Regions from separate parts of the Homo sapiens genome. Here region 1 is linked to region 2. The links are contacts of gene promoters, found by promoter capture Hi-C in human tissues and cell types (Jung and others, 2019). All regions are on one chromosome and are shown on one strand. Each heading gives the region's core, a stretch centred on a gene start or on the middle of the fragment in contact. The rest is flanking DNA. Distances are from core to core; before and after follow the strand shown. Region 1 overlaps DIAPH3 (diaphanous related formin 3). Region 2 holds the start of DIAPH3 (diaphanous related formin 3).

Region 1 (3,282 bases), core at 546-3,045, 36 kb after region 2:
CTTGAGAGAGGCATATAAGAATAGCAATGTGCTGTAGTCATACATTTGAATAACAGTATTTTAGAAACATTAAAACATCACGGGAAGCATTAATGTTAAAAACCTATCCCTTTAAGTTGTTTTGTTAAAGGTCTGCAAAAGTACTTCATGTTTTAAGGTTATTTCTTGAGTTACTATCAGAATTGAATTTCACTGTCTTGTTAAAGGAATAAAGGATTGCTATATTGTTGGGTTCCCTAGGCAGAGTTAATAGACTATAAGCAGTGTTTGTTCTATAAATATGAGCATTCTCTTTGTATAAAGTGCAGCTTAGGTGCTAGGGTAATAAATAAAGGTGAATAAATGTTTAGCTTATAACTTCCATTGCTTATACCTGGGTTTTGAAGAAGGTTTTCCTCATAGAGGCAAAAAGGTTGGGAGGAGGGGGGAGTGAGGGGAGACAGGTTTGAAAAGGTAAGTTGGAAGACATTGAATGTGGATGTGACAATGCTAAATTATCCATCAGTGTGTCCACTGAGTGTTTTTGGAGTATAGGAGTTGTTTTTGACTTGCTGTTTTCTCTCCTGTCCTTCATAACCATTTGTCTACAGTATAGTACTTCTATGATCCTCATCTCTTTGTTCATCTGACTGCAGCCTGCTTTACTGTTTGGCCTGCAGCAATGGTTTTCAAATCTTTTTGACTAGATACTGCATTAAGAAATATATTTTATTTTGTAGCCTGGCATGCATAAACTCCTAAACTCTCTGCTTCTCAGTTGAAACAAAAGTTTAAAAACCAGTATTTAACATTTCTAAGCAAAATGAATTCTGATCTTTTTATTTCCATTCCTTTCTAATTTTCTTCACTCCTCTCCATTCCTTAAAAAAAAAAAAAAGGTAATTGAATCCACTAAATTGATTTCATGACCCACAAATGGTTAACAGCTATAGCTAGAAAACCAAACATTGGCCTGCACAGAAACTAGAGGAAGTCATGAGGTCTTTGCATTAGTGTCTATTCTTTATTATATGTAGTTGCATGTAGGAAAGCCAGGTTAGAATGCCACCTCTGCCATTTACTAGCTGTGTGACTTTGTGTTAGTTATGTAGCTTTTGAGCCTTGGTATAGAGATAGTTTAAGGGACAAATTAAGTAAGATGCTTGGTAAACCGTGCATTTATAATTTAGTGCTATGTTTAGTAATACACACTTTCAAAAAATGAGGTATGATCCAGCAATCTCATTGCTGGGTATATACCCAAAGGAATATAAAATTTTCTACCATAAAGACACATGTACACGTATGGTCATTGCAGCACTATTTACAATAGCAAAGACATGGAATCAATCTAAATGCCCATCAATGGCAGATTGGATAAAGAAAGTATGGTACTAATACACCATGCAATACTATGCAGCCATAAAAAAGAACAAGATCATGTCCTTTGCAGGAACATGGATGGAGCTGGAGGCCATTATCCTTAGCAAACTAACACAGGAACAGAAAACCAAATACTGCATGTTCTCACTTGTAAGTGGGAGCTAAATGATGAGAACACATGGACACAAAGAGGGGAAAAACAGACACTGGGGCATACTTGAGGGTGATGGGTGGGAGGAGGGAGAATATCAGAAAAAATATCTATTAAGTACTAGTACTAGGACCAGTACCTGGCTGAAATAATCTGTACAACAAACCTATGTGACATGAGTTTATCTATATAACAAACCTGCACATGTACCTCTGAACCTAAAAGTTAAAAAAAAAGTTGAGGTATGATTTACTTACAATATAATTTACGTGCATTATATTGTACCAGTATTGAGTATAATCTGATGAATTTTGAGAAATATATACAATAATGAGTGCACTAGTCGTGATATGAAATATTTCCATCACCCCAAAAGGTTCCCTCTGTACCCGCTTACAGTCAATTCTCTTCTCCCATCCTGGCTTTTGACAAACACTTATCAGCATTCTGAACTATAGTTCAGTTTTTAGAATTTCATATAAATGGAGTCACAAAGTGTGTTGCCTTTGTGTCTGGCTCATTGTTTGGTAATACTACAATTGGTTTAACTTCAGCAGTTTGGGTTGTTTCCAGTTTTCGGCTATTATTAGTACAGTTGCTATGAGCATTTGAGTACAGCATTGTTTTTTTTTGTGTATATGTTTTTGTTTTTTGTGGGAGTCATATAGTAAGTGTGTCTTTAACTTGATAAGAAACTGACAAATTGTTTCCCACAATTACTAATGTTGAACTTTTTTTTATGTGCTTATTTAACATTTTCTTGTTTAAATGTCTGTTACTAGATATAGGACTATTCAAGTAATCTATTTTTTCCTAAGTGAGCCTTGGTAGTTTATGTCTTTCAAGGACATACATTTTACCTATATTGTTAAATCTAAATTTTTACCTATATTTTAAATTTTATCTATGTTGTTGAATTTATGGGTATAAAGTTGTTTGTGATATTTTCTTATCCCTTTAATGCAGGATCTGTATTAATTACCCCCTTTGCAATCCTCATATTGATAATTTGTGTTTTCTGTGTTTTTCTCTGTGACTAGTCTGGCTAGAGGTTTGCCAGTTTTATTGATCTTTTGAAAAACTAGCTTTTGTTTTCACTAATTTTCTTTATAGTTCTTTTGTTTTTGTTTGTTTTACCTTTATTATTTACTTTCTTTTGTTTTATTATTTTTTTCTCTGATTTCTTAAGGTAGAACTCTAAGTCATTGATTTAATACCTTTGTTTGCTAACATGTTAGATTTTTTATGCTATAAATTTTCCTCTGACATCTGCTTTAGCTGCATCCCACAAAATTTTATTGAATTGAATATTTTTAAATTTCTTATTTTCTTTGACCCATGGGTTATTTTGGTATATGTTATTTAACTTCCAAATATTTAGGGGTTTTCCTGATATTTGACTGTGTCTGATTTGTAATTTAGTTCCCTCGTGGTCAGAGACCTGTAGTTTGCATGAATTCTGTCCTTTCTGATTTTTTAAGTCTTACTTTATGTCCCAGAACATGGTCTATCTTGGTCAGTATTCGTGTATATTCTGAATGGTTGGTAGTGCTGTTCACATCTTCTGTATTCTTGTTAATTTTCTGTGTGTTCTAACAATTATTGAGAGAAGTATCGAAGTCTCCCACTGTGATTTTAGATTTTATTTTTCCCGTTCGATTGGTTTTTGCTTCACGTATTTTGAAGCTTTGCAGTAAAGTGCATATATAAGATTGTTGTGACTTCTTTATCTTTAATAAATGACGTTTTAAAATCACAAATAATTTTTA
Region 2 (3,091 bases), core at 367-2,866:
TCCTGAAGGCACTTAATCTTGAGCAACCCTTCCCACCTCTTTCCACGGAGTCTTTCCCAAATCACCTAATCAAAGCCCAAATCCTTTAAGTGCTTTCTAATACCATTTACCTAAGACACTTCATGGCTCCCCATAGTGCATGTTCTCCCTCCCTGAGTAATAATCCCAACTTCTTCAACTACAGTATTCCTGTAGGAGCATTGACAAAACTCTAAGGGCTTTACATATGCTATGTTATTTAGGCCTGAAAATGCCCCTCTTTCATAGGTATTAGTATAATTACCCCCCTTTTGTAGATGAAGCAGCAAAGAAAGTTAAACGTCATCTCCGGTATCAAATAGCTAGTAAATGGCAGGAATAAAATCTGTATCTGGGTCTGTCATCAAGATATAAGGAACTACTTGTAGTTCTCCTGACCTTGCTGTTCTCCTGTAAGTTTCCCTAAAGATTATGTGCTCTTTGAGGACAGAGCTGTAGAGTCTGGCACAGTAAAACAAATATTAAAAAAGAAAAGCTGTAGTGTGAAGACTTACTGAGAACTAAGGCTCATTTTTTGAACCTCTGTGCCAAACTCCTCAGAGTACCTAGAGTTGTTTCTTGTACCAAAATCAATACTGCATGTTTCCGAGTCTTGGCCTACACCACCTCCATATAATCAGAAGACAGATATCTTAAAGGAATAGTTCCAAGGAAAAGCTCATTTTTAAAGAGGGTATATTGATGTGTTGAGAAAACGGTGTTTGCCTTGTAGCTTGACCTTGGGTTTACACAACAAACTCTTTTGCATGGTTTCAGTTCAAGGCCCTTTGTTATGTGACCTTAAAGTTTCTTCACCTCTATGCTTTCTTGGCCTTGCTCCTGCCTGGAATGGAATGCCTTTTAAATGAATGCCCTGCCACTGTTTCCTGCCTAGTGAAAACCTATGCAGCTTTCCTTTTACCTTTCCAGATCCACTCCTTCAGATTTAATAACTTCCCTTTTTGTTCTCAAGGAACTTCTAAAACAACTGCTATAGACATTTACATTCCTTGGTTAATTGTGTTAGGGTTTGGAAACTACAGGAGACTGTGAGCTCCTGAAGGGCTCAGCCTAGCCTAGCTCTGTCTGATTTTGGGTGGACCCCTCTGCCACCCCAGAGCGAGCACTTAGGCAGGAAATATGTCCAGAAGGCTTCCTTTTGGAGCGTCGTGGGCCCCGTCGTTTCATCCTGCCTAGTACCCCTTCCAGCACCGTACCCAGTCCCAGAACTACTTTTTCCAGCCCCAGACGTGCAAGGAGAGGGCTAGCAGATGGTTTTATATCCCAGCGCTGCTCAAATGGTGGCGCAGGGCCTGTCTCGCCCACCTTCCAGTTCTGCTGGAACCCTATCTGCAAATCCAAAGAAATCCAGGCCGATGACTTCCTCCACGGTCCCCGGCGCTTCTCCAAATCTGACGCCACTCTGCGTCCTTAAGGTGAGCGGCCTGGACCGCCGGAAGGGTTGAGCGGCTGCATAGACAGGCCGCAAGGCCAATCATGTTTCGCAGTGCCCGGAAGGGGCGGTGCCTCAGCGTGTCATTGATCCGGCGGCGCGGGATTGGCCAGTCCCGGGCCAACACGGGTGGCGGGAGTTTTCAGATGTGTTGGCTGCGGCCCCGACTTCAGCGGTTGGGCTAGGCTGTGCTGACTGTTTGGGTGGCGGACCCCGGGAGTAAAACCTGTTGTCGATCCCTCAGCTTCCAGCTTGCGGCTTGCTGAGTGGCCACCTTCTTTCCGGTCCCCGGAGCTGCGGGGAAAGATGGAACGGCACCAGCCGCGGCTGCACCACCCGGCCCAAGGCTCAGCCGCTGGGACTCCCTACCCTTCCTCAGCCTCTCTCCGCGGCTGCCGGGAAAGCAAGATGCCGCGCAGGAAGGGCCCCCAACACCCTCCGCCGCCCAGTGGCCCCGAGGAGCCTGGGGAGAAGCGCCCCAAGTTTGTGAGTATCGCCTGGAGCTAGGGTGGGGCCGCTCCCGCCCCGCCGTAGGGCTGACTGCCGAGGGTGGGCCCACAAGAACTTGGGGACCAAGTTTTATTCTAGAGATCCAGAGGTGCCAAAGATCATAGATTGACAACGACCGGGTCTAGTTGTAGTTGGATCCTGTGACAAATGCCCAGATCTTTGTGTTGCCCCCAAATTTCTTAACGCTGATGTGAAAAGCAGTTCAAACGTGTATATGTATTGACGTCATCTAGGTGGACATTGCATTTTTTAAGTCGAAGTTCTCCCTTCCTCCCTAGTGTAAGAGGGTATAAGATATATCAAAATGAACTTTTAGGTGACAGGTTTTTTTTCTGCTTATTATTTTAATAAGAACTTTTAATTACATATAAGAACTTTTAAGGTAGATATAATTTTCCAAGTTGAAACAGCTAGTTTTAGAACTTGGCGGGTGGTGTGGTCACTGCTAAAGAATGTTTTGCTTAGCTTGGAAAGAATTCTAAATATTTGAAACTTGCTATTCTGGTTTGCTTGTGTTTAACACTTAAGGAAAGTGTCATGATTAACACCTTGTCTTTTCGTTGGTGTCAACTAGTGAAAGTATAGGCAGTGATGATTATTTTGGGGTTTGTGTGTGTAAATAAATCACATAGAGGGTTGATAGATTTGGGATGAGTCCAACAGAATTGAAATTTCACATTGACCACTCCACCATTTTCCTTAGGAATATGGAAAAACTGTGTGTGTGTGTGTGTGTGTGTGTGTGTGTGTGTGAGAGAGAGAGAGAGAGAGAGAGAGAGTACAGCATTTGCCTTATGTGGGCAAGTAAAAATTGTGAGAAATTTAAGTCATGATTCACAAATTAAGGGAATAATGGTTTGTGAACCAGTTGCTAACTATAACATTTAGTTAAAAATAATAGTTGAATAAGACTGAGAGCCCATATTCTGATACATGAGATATATCAGAATACTGAAAATGAGAAACAGCATAGATTAATTGAAAATGAGGAACAGCATAGATTAATTATGCCAAATTAAGTATCAAAATGGTCATAGGAATAGTGACATTTTGCAGAAGGATCAAGTATGGACTTGATCATTATCTTGACAAATCTGAAGAATGAATAGG

Evidence for each region. The method cuts DNA at HindIII sites, captures the fragments that hold promoters and counts their contacts. A contact is called where the count stands out against the background at its distance.
Region 1: a contact is called between a fragment that was not itself captured here and the fragment with the promoter of DIAPH3 in region 2, in 1 of the 25 tissues and cell types used here (IMR-90 fibroblasts).

The regions. Positions count from the first base shown.
Region 1 is chr13:60,126,373-60,129,654 of GRCh38, reverse strand. All of the region lies in intron 2 of DIAPH3 (diaphanous related formin 3), which reads left to right. Among named protein-coding and RNA genes, the nearest start is that of DIAPH3-AS2, 17 kb to the left of the region's middle. The HindIII fragment of the contact is 9,956 bases long and covers 1-3,282 here.
Region 2 is chr13:60,162,453-60,165,543 of GRCh38, reverse strand. DIAPH3 (diaphanous related formin 3) reads left to right here and starts at 1,616. Exons shown (of 28, transcript NM_001042517.2): 1 at 1,616-1,957. The coding sequence starts at 1,778. LOC105370227 (a long non-coding RNA gene) reads right to left here and starts at 1,487. Exons shown (of 2, transcript XR_942001.2): 1 at 1,345-1,487. RefSeq lists enhancers at 1-89, 1,178-1,227. The HindIII fragment of the contact is 10,910 bases long and covers 1-3,091 here.